Regions from separate parts of the Homo sapiens genome. Here region 1 is linked to region 2. The links are contacts of gene promoters, found by promoter capture Hi-C in blood cells and fetal thymus (Javierre and others, 2016). All regions are on one chromosome and are shown on one strand. The core of a region is centred on a gene start or on the middle of the fragment in contact, and the rest is flanking DNA. Distances in the headings are between cores, read along the strand shown.

Evidence for each region. The method cuts DNA at HindIII sites, captures the fragments that hold promoters and counts their contacts. A CHiCAGO score of 5 or more calls a contact.
Region 1: a fragment that was not itself captured here is called in contact with the fragment with the promoter of MBD4 in region 2 in 1 of 17 cell types (total B cells); the score reaches 5.7 in total B cells.

What each region holds. Positions count from the first base shown.
Region 1 is chr3:128,797,024-128,801,775 of GRCh38, forward strand. RAB7A (RAB7A, member RAS oncogene family) reads left to right here. Exons shown (of 6, transcript NM_004637.6): 3 at 920-1,046. It also overlaps the pseudogene RPS15AP16. Among named protein-coding and RNA genes, the nearest start is that of MIR12124, 47 kb to the right of the region's middle. The HindIII fragment of the contact is 2,076 bases long and covers 593-2,668 here.
Region 2 is chr3:129,437,553-129,442,702 of GRCh38, forward strand. It overlaps MBD4 (methyl-CpG binding domain 4, DNA glycosylase), which reads right to left and starts at 2,396. Exons shown (of 8, transcript NM_001276270.2): 1 at 2,178-2,396; 2 at 168-398. The coding sequence starts at 2,281. IFT122 (intraflagellar transport 122) reads left to right here and starts at 2,672. Exons shown (of 30, transcript NM_052989.3): 1 at 2,672-2,819. The coding sequence starts at 2,779. RefSeq lists enhancers at 2,226-2,305, 2,396-2,535, 2,736-2,945, 3,096-3,145, 3,176-3,225 and 1 more. The HindIII fragment of the contact is 2,558 bases long and covers 572-3,129 here.

The DNA.
Region 1 (4,752 bases), core at 381-2,880, 640 kb before region 2:
GATTTGTGCTCTCTCTCCTACCCCGCAACTCCATCCCCGTCGGGATGGAAAGATAGTGCTTTTAGGCCTGCCTTCCCCAAACTTGTGCAAAAAGTCTCACCAAGCCCTTGTTCGATTCCAGGTTTTGCCACCTCTCACCTTGTAGATTCTGGCTTAGATGGTCTGGGTTGGAAAACACTGCCTTCGGCTGTCTAGGTACCTCCAGGTTCTTTAACACAAATATGAACATGTTCCTTTGTGGCCAAGAAAGGTGATATCACTGGCTATGGGGGGGAAGGTTTTTGTATTAGCTTTAGGTTACCTTAACCTTATCACACAAAAATCACACATTGTCTCTTGCTGAGTTTTCTTACTAGAAAACATATTTGGAGGAGCATTCTTTGAGGTGGATTTGTTTTGGTGATATATTGGTGCTTTTTCTGCTTCAGATTTTAAACTTTAAAGCAGCAAATTGTCTGAGTGGTGTGTGTCTGCTGAAAGCCAAGGTCTTCCTCCTGGTGTTACTTCATCAAGCTAAATAGCAGCCACTAAATGGAGAAACATCTAAGATAGCAGGGATACTGTTGGAATAGCAGAACAGTCTTAATAGTGAAGCTTCTTTTAGAAAGCAGTATATTTGCTGGCATCCTTCTAGAATGGAAAAAATAATACTAGGCTCTACCATTTGACCTGGCTGTGCCAAAACATGTAAGCAGCTTTTCCACATCTGCCCCACATCTGTACCCTATATTTTTACCCAGAGAGAAAACACAAAACTTCAAAAGTGTAATGCTCGGAAGGCTACTGGCATTGCCCTTTGCTGTGAGGGCAGTTTCTTGTCCTTCAGGTCAGGCAGATTCTTTTAAATGCTTCAAGTAATTCGTGTCAGTTTCAGGACCCTCCTATTTGACTTATACTTATGGTTTTTCTCCAATTTCAGAGTCGGGAAGACATCACTCATGAACCAGTATGTGAATAAGAAATTCAGCAATCAGTACAAAGCCACAATAGGAGCTGACTTTCTGACCAAGGAGGTGATGGTGGATGACAGGCTAGTCACAATGCAGGTAAGCACATGTCTTGGCTGTGCTGACCAGGCCTTGATAGTTCATTTAGTCTTAATCTTTCCTCATGCATAGACATTTTCCTTCCCTGTTCTTCAAATCTTATTATCTTATTTGTAGATAATTGGCTGATACTCAGTTAAATTTGAATTTCAGATCAATAGTGAATACTTTTTTAGTATACTTCTAGTGTATCTCAGATACGACTTGCTAAGACACACTAAAAAATTCTTCTTAAAAAAAAACTCAGATTTATCCTTTCTTGTTTTTTGTTGTTTTTGGTTTTGTTGTTTGCTAAATTTGGCAACCTGCAGGTCTCTGTCTTGTGCCTCTCTTGACATCCTTGCCCAGTGCTTTAGGTAAACATCTTTGTCTCACCTCAGTAGTGAGACATAAACTTTATTTTTCTGACTTCCTATTTCATACGTAACTTCAAGAGTTGTGTGTCTATTGAGCCAATCTTTTTTTTATGTATCAGCTTATTAATCTTTCAAGGGTTCCCTTTCAACAGTTAGGATAAGATACAGATTCTTTCATATGACTTGTTGAAAAGCCTTCACATTCTGGCTATAAACTATTATTCCCTTTTTTTCCCCCATTGAGTCATTTTGTTTGTATACATGTATTAACATCCCTAGAAAAGAAACCCCTGAAGGATGGATACCTTGAGCCCAGGAGTTTGAGCCTGCAGTGAGCTGTGACTGCTCCATTATACTCCAGCCTGGGTGATGGAGTGAGACCCTGTCTCTAAATTTAAAAAAAAAAAAAAAAAAAAAAAAGAATCCCAGGATTTTCCCTCCTGTATTTTCATCTCTTTCTTCATGGTCCATGATGCCAGCTGAGGTTGTCAGTACAACCTCACTTTGAAACCAAACTATTGGGATAGGAGTAGATTATCCTGTCATTTTTCTAGATCTTTGAGTTGCACATCACATCTGGGGCCAATCATTCCAGGGGCAGTTTTAACCTGCCTGTGAGGTTTACAGTAATTTTCCCAGCTCTGTGATGACCAGTGATTTCAAATTTTCAATGTGATCATGTTTCATCTTCACACTTAGAACCAGACCATGACTTGGGAGCACAGCCTAATAAGAACCTGGTGTTTGCCCTTGAGAGCATCAGCCAAGACGTTCATGCATTACGGAGGCAAGAAAAGATGGTGGAAATAGCTGTTACTCACTTTTTTTTTTTTTGTCTCGTTCCAGTCATTCCGAATCATGTGCTGCTCTTACAGACTTGTGTTGGTGGATATGTCTCTGCTTCCAGCAGGGCCTGTATACCCACCTGAAGTCTCCAACTTTTAGCTCAGATCTTTGGAAACTTCTATCTCCATGGCAGTTGTTCTTTCCTATGTGCTTCTAGAGGCAAATACAATTCTAATCCCATTATAGTCCTAGAAAGTACCTGGCAAATAGTGGGGGCTTGCTGAAATGTGTGAATGATGTAGGTTAAAGGTAGAAATTTGTGCACGTGTTGACCTCGAGCCATGGCATGCTCCTAGAGGATCAGGACTCTTAATTGACTCACACTTCTAGGACAGAGCTGGTATGAATCTCTCATCCTCACCTCACCTACACACATACACCTAGAGATCTTCAAAATGTAACTACAGTTTAAGCAAGTCAAGCTTGAGAGTAGAACTGGAAAACCTTGGCCCAAGAAATTGGCAAAGCTTGTGTCTGCAGTTGTTGGAGATTCTCAGTCCCACTCTCCACATGTACAGAAATCTTTGTCTCAAAGGATTTAACATAAATCCCTGTCATTCCTGGCAAAAACAAGGGTAAGACCACTCTGTAGGGACATTTAGTACCGCAGGAGAGAAGATGAGTTCATAACCACATGAGGAAATAATGTACCACAAGAGATGTTCACAATGACTAGAGATGTTCTAAAAAGAAATAGAAACCATAATGGAAAGGGATACTATAAAAAAATGAGGATATGGAAAACTTAGAACTTCAAGAAGTGAAAACATAGTATTGAAATAAGCTAAAGGAACAGTTAAACTGTAGATTAAATGGAGCTGAAAAAAGCAGTAAGCCGTAAGAGCTGAGCAAATTTTCTAAAAGAAGACTTAAAATTGTAGAAGACCGAAAAGCAAAATCTTAAGAGCAACTATAGAAAAAAAAGACATGACTTATAAAGGAACAACAGACTGACAAATTCTCAACAGAAGGCAGAAGGGAGTAGAATTACTTCAGGGAGCTGGGGTAAAGGCCCATCTGAAGATTCTCCATGTGTCACAGCAAGACTCAGACTGCCTTTTGCTGAGGGAAAATAGAACTTCTCCAGCTGAGCTGTGGTTTTGGTAGCCATGTGGGCCAGCGAATTCAGAAATCAGAGTTCGGCCCCTGCTGGGTCGGGGGTTGTCATAACAGTCCCGTCTGTACTACTAAGCTGGGACCTTGGGGCGCTGCACTCTTGAAGTAAACCCCATCAGGAGATCCACAGCGCACTGTGGGCTTCTCAAGAAGCCCAAATTCCAGGAAGGATAAATAAAAAGAATTCTGTGTAAGTCATAATGAAACTAAAAAAGAAAAAGGCTTAAAAATAGACTGAGGAAAACCTGACAAGCACAGCACTGAGGCTGTCAGGTGACTCTTGGCAGTAGCAGCAGAGCCCAGCAGGCAGTGGGGTATGTTGGGAAAGAGACGGGCAGCACAGTGTTCTGTCTCTGCTGAAATAACCCTCCTGAATGAAAGAGTACATCTTTAAGGGCTAGTGGCAGAAGTTCTAAAGGATAACTCCAGGCAGAAAGTGATTTCATGTAGATGAGGAAAGAGTGGAAAAAGATAACAAGTTCCCAAGAGATTGAAGCAAAAGGATGACCCTTGTGCTCTTGCAGCCAGCTTCAGATACTAGAAGTAAATGAAAATCATTGTCTCTGCACAAAGGCGTCATTATCCTGATCTTGAGGAATCCTCATGTGTTTTTCGAGGGCTTTTAGCAGCTTGCAGTAAAACATAATCAAAATAAAACAAGGCACCACAAGAAAGAACCAGTGGAAACTTCCCTGGTAATTCCAGAGTGTTTTTTGTATTTAAAGAAATAAGGAGGATACAGAGTTTCAGTTATATGAGATGAATAAATCCTAGAGATGTGTACAGCATAGTGCCTGTAGTTAACAATACTGTATTGTACACTTAAAAATTTGCATGCTGGATGCGGTGGCTCATGCCTGTAATCCTAGTGCTTTGGGAGGCCAAGAGAGGAGTTTGAGACTAGCCTGGGCAAAATAGCACATTTCATCTCTACAAAAAAATTTTTTGAAAGAATTTACTAAGAGGATCTTATTTTAAGTGTTCTTATCACAAAAAGTAATAATAAGAGGATGGGGGGAACCTTTTGATGAGTAGGTTTGTGGCCTACATTGTAGTGATGGTTTGTGTGCAGCCTTTGTATGTCAGCCATACCTCACTAAAGGGGCTTTGGTTAAAGATAAGATAATCGTTTATCTGCAGGGAAGAAACGAAACAGTTAACATTGATAGGGGGAGAAAATGAAGCACAATCAATGAAATTTGGAAATTCAGAGAATGCTGCTAAATCATAGCAGATTGGCCACACCAGAAAAGGGCTGGAAGAATGAAAGAAAAATGGCAGGAAATATGAAAGAAATAAGTGAAAGTGAGAAGGTTGGACCTACTTTTAATCAGTCTCAGAAGGTGTAAAGAGAGAATAATAGATCAAAGATGATATTTGCTGAGAAT
Region 2 (5,150 bases), core at 1,146-3,645:
TAATTTTCCCCAAATCACTTGATGTAATTAATAGCAACATTGAAAGAATAGAATCTGCAATGGTTTTATGGTAAAAATATAAAGAAGCTAAGATTCCTGCTATGCTCCCACTACCTGCCCAGACAAAATCATTTGGCTGTACTATCTTTACCATCTTATATGCTTACCTGATAAAGTACACATCAAATCTTCCTGCTGTCTTCCCAAATAACCTTTGCTTCACAACTCTTTCCCATCCACATGGGACAGACTTACGGCATTCTGTTCCTGCAGTAGCACCAAACTGAGCAGAAGCGATGGGTTCTTGTAGCAAGGGATTACATTCACTGCTTCTTTTTATCATCATTTGTTCCTCATCTTCTCCCACTCTTTCCAATTCCATAGCAACATCTTCTTTGCTGGAAAAACAAAGTCTAAGTGATTAACTTATTTAAAATTTATCTTCCACTGCCTACTCAGTTTTAATCCATGACAATGCAGGAACCACATAGATTATCCATATTAAAATGAGGGAGATTAAAGTCAGTGTGGACCAGTCTTGTGCTATGGGAGTATTTTCCTGTCTTCCAAAAGCTTCCCATATCCTCTAGCACAGGTTAAAAGGTGTTGGAAATCTCTGCACAACAAAAAAGTCAAGCTAGAAACTTTTCGGATTAATCACTGAGTAGGGCTATTATAAAGATTTCTGGGGGCACTTACCATAAATTTGAGAATATGAACCAATAGCTAAGCTCTTAAGCACCAGAAAATGCTTAAATAAATCAGTGAGTTACACTGTCTTCTCTGCAAATAAATGAGGTAAAAGTTTTACATAATGTAAAATTTCTGGGAGAGAGTGTGTATCACTTTCATCAGATGTAATCCTCCAGAAGGTAAATAATTTGATACAGAATTTTTGAATCTTCTTCATTCTTGATCCTCATGGTAACCTTGTAGGTACAATAAGGTTTACTCTCAATTTATTGATAAAATTGAGTGACAGGTTAAATTACTTGCAGAACAGACACGAGAACCCAAGTCTACCAAATCTTGGTCTAATACTTCTCCCCCATACTGTTATTGAAAAAAGCTGGCAAGGCAAGGTGGCTCATTCCTGTAATGCTAGCACTTTGGGAGGAGGAAGTGGGAAGATCACCTGATCCCAAGAGTTTGAGACCAGCCTGGAGAGCACAGTGAGATCCTCGTCTTTGCAAAAAATGAAAAAAAAAACCCAAAAAAACAAAAAAAAACAAGCAACCGGGCGTGGTGGAGCATACCTGTGGTCCCAGCTACTAAGGAGGCCGGGGTAGGAGGACTGCTTAAGTCCGGCAGGTCAAGGCTTCAGGGAGCTATGATTGTGCCACTGCACTCCAGCCTGGGTGACAGAGCGAGACCTCATCTCAAAAAAAAACCCACTAAACTAAAACTTCATTAAAGTTCCAATGTGTCTTCTATGATGAAAACATACTTTTAAAATTAAAAAAAAAATTTCAGTAAAGTGTATCCTAATCACTAAACCACAGATTGTAAAAGGTGGATGGGTCTAGAGAGATCATTTAACCCAAGTTCTTTTCTACAAATAGGGAAACTGCAAGAACTAGAATTAGAATCAAGGTTTTCTGATGTAATTTGGGGTAAAATAATTTTGAGGAGCTGGATGGATCTTATGAAATGATATTGTTTACAATTTTAGAGATAAAAATACTGAAGCCTGGTGGAATCAGCACAAACTCTTAAGAGACTGGGGCTCAAATTCCAGCTCTACCAGCTGTAAGTTTAGCAGCAAGTTACTTAACATCTCAAAGTCTCGGTAAAAGACTCTGTAAAAAGAAGGTGATGCCTCTTTCAAAGTAGTTCTTAGTATTAAATTTTGAAAAAAGTAGGTAAATCTTAACCTCCTATCACACACGTAGTCTAATGACTTCCTAGGATCCTCCAACCCCAAGGGGACCTCTTTCACAAAACCTCCCGGCTCCCCCCCAGTCTCCCTAGTCATCTTAGATGAGGAAGTCGAGCGCACCCCAGGGCTGATCGCACAGGAAGAGCACCTGGGCTCCAGACCCTAGTAACTAAACCCGTGGGCTTCGAGGTTTCTGCCGACCCTCTGTCAAAGGTTAGAAAGGCCCACACACTGTCCACTCTCCCGATACCATTTTACAGGTGGTGAAACTGAGGCCCAAAAGGGGACAGTAACTTACCGGAGGTCATTCGGCGGGTCTGGGACTAGGCGCTCACTAGAGGTGACGGTGGGGGCAGCTCCGCGGTCCCCCAGACTCAGACTCTCCAGCCCAGTCGTGCCCATCGAGCAGGGTCCGGCTGCAGCAACGAGCCCAGCGCCGCAACGCCCAGGGTGTGGGGCGGAGTAAGATGTGAAACCTCTTCAGCTCACGGCACCGGGCTGCAACCGAGGTCTGAATGTTGCGAAAGCGCCCCAGACGCCGCCGCTGCTTTCCGGCCGCCCCCTCGGCTACAGCCGCCATTTCCACGCTCCACCAATCAAATCCATTCTCGAGGAAGACGCACCGCCCCCACACGCCCCGACCAATCGCTCGCGCTCTGGTTGCGCTGGCGCCTTAGGGGCTCCAGTGCCACCATTGCTTTTGCTGCTTTTCTGGCTTTCCCTTTCGGACATGCGCGCTCGGAGCAAGGCGCCCTCGCACTCAGCTTACCGCGCATGTACGTTGCCAGGGGTAACGCAGGTAGCCAAAGTGGCTTGTGGAGTGGCGACCGTTAGTGAGGCGGTTGCTGAGACAGACGCTGAGGCGGGTAGGAGGAGCCCGAGCCGTAAGGGAAGCCGTGATGAGGGCCGTGTTGACGTGGAGAGATAAAGCCGAGCACTGGTGAGGAGCGGGGCGGTTCGCGAAGAGCAGGAGGTCGAGTCCTCGCGGGGAGTGCGCGAGCCGCTGCAGCGTGTTTGAGGGGGGCAGCGGGCTTGCTGCCTGGGCCGAGGGCACTGAACCCCGGCCTGGGAGACTGCAGGGTCGCCCTCCCGCCCCTTGGCGGTTGGAGAAACTCCCGAGGGTTGGAGAGCGGCAAAGGGAGGTGCCGCGCCTGAGGTGGTGGCGGGTGGAGGCGGCTCTTCCCTCACGGTCTGGCCCTGTCGCTGCCTTGGATTCATCTCACACCCACGAGACAGCACGAAGCTGCTCAAGCTTCACAGTTCTTGCCACATCCACATAGTACCCATACTCTTGTTTTCTTGACGTTTTTCTCTAAATTGTCTCATTTATTTTAATTATGATTTCACATTTTACAAGGAAACTTTATTACTCCATTTATGAAAACCAGTGTCACTTGCTCTAAATGTTAAGATAAAATCAGCGTCGCTTGCTCTAAGTGTAAAAGTAAAACTTAAAGTAGGGAGAAACAAAACTGAACAAGCTGTAGCTAGCTATTGTTGCTAGGGAGCCTTTAAACCTGAGATCTCGTTTCTCTAAAACTGGAGATGGGCAGGTATGATCAGAAAGGTGCTCAAAATGAGCACCAAACACAAGCTCTCCTAATTGGGAAGTCTGAAAAAGAACTGAAGGGGAATGACTTTGTCACCTTTTGATTCAGTTATTTAATGTCCTATTCCATTGTTATCGCCTAAATCTATAACATAGCAGTCTGTTTTGTCATATTCTTACTTATGGGATAGGTCTTGGCCTGACTTTGAAAATCATTCAGCATTGTTGTGAAGCCTCTGTTCTGGCCACTGGAGCAGGTTACTTGTCTTTGGTTCTGTCCCTTCTGAGATCTTTCTCTGTGTAAAGCATGCCGTCTCTCCTCATCTCACACGGAAATCCTGAACATCCTTCAAGGCTCACGTTGGAGACGGGTCCTCTCTTTTGTGTTCGGCACTAGTGGTAGCTGACACTATGTGCCAGGTGCTGGCTAAGCACTTCATATCCTTTATCTCGTTGTGTCTTCACCACTCTCTAAGGTAGGTACTATAATTTCCTCTATTTTATGTATGAGGAAACTGAAGCCCAGAGAGGGTGGATAATTTGCCAGCGTCACACAGTGAGGGGTGGAACCAGCTTTCAAGCTCAGGTCTTCCTCACTCCAACGTCAACGCTCTCAGCCACTACATTAATTTTTCCTTATGTTACAGACGTGGCAAACTCAAATGTCTGCAGGAGACAGGCAGGTAACATAAATGGGAGATGTTTATTTGCATCTTCAACACTAGGAATTGTATGTTTTCCCTAGGAATAGTCTTGTATTCTGTACCCCATTTTTCTTGAAACACAGCCGTATCAGTGAATCTTTCATTTGTACTTTTAATAGAGATTTGAGTTTTAAAAAATCATTTTACTTTTAACTTTATTATAAACGTACCTATAGCACAAGCTGATGATAGCTGGCAACTGAACATTTGGCTTCAATGTCAGAGTAATAGAGTGTGGCAAACTGCAGAGCTCATGCTCGGCCTAAAAGGGGCAGCTGCTGCTCAGCTCCTGCCAATTACCACCATGCAGGAATTTGGCCTAGTGTGCTCAGCTCTTCCTGTTTTTACCAGAAGCTAGGAATCTGGGTTTTTATGTGAAATGGCCTAATTTTTAAATGTTAGCATCCACTCTGAAAAAAAAACAAAACACCGTGTGGGCCAAATAAAACATTTGCTGGCCGAATGCAGCCTGATTTGCTCTGTTTTCAACCCCTGGCACAGAATTTTGTTCATTTCTCTCTTGTGGTACTTCCAGAGTCTGTTGAGCATAAGAGTTAATTTTTTAAATCTGTTTAATTCAGAAGTCTAATAAACCCGTTAAAGGCAATGGCTATGTCTTACTCGTTTCCAAATTATTCTAGAGACAGGTCAGTGGTTGTTGTTACTATGGATAGTAATAAAATACTAGATATATATAAAACGAAATACTGTGGGTAGATGTATTCATACGTGAATGAATGATGAATAAAGATTGGTTTTCTGGTTTTTGGCCCATTACAGATTTGAGACAACCTATTAGGATAAGGGATGTAGGGGTTCTATAGACCATCAATCCTGATGGCTGCTAGATATACCAGCTGATAGCCCAGAATGAAAACAAAACAAAAAACTAAACAAAAAAAAAAAAGACAGTAGAACTAAAAAAATCCTAGATGTCAAAGATTAGTCCTCCACATCCAAATCAGCCATTGTCTCCCGGTCTGCTCCTTTGCTTCTATTTTAACCTTCACATAGCAGC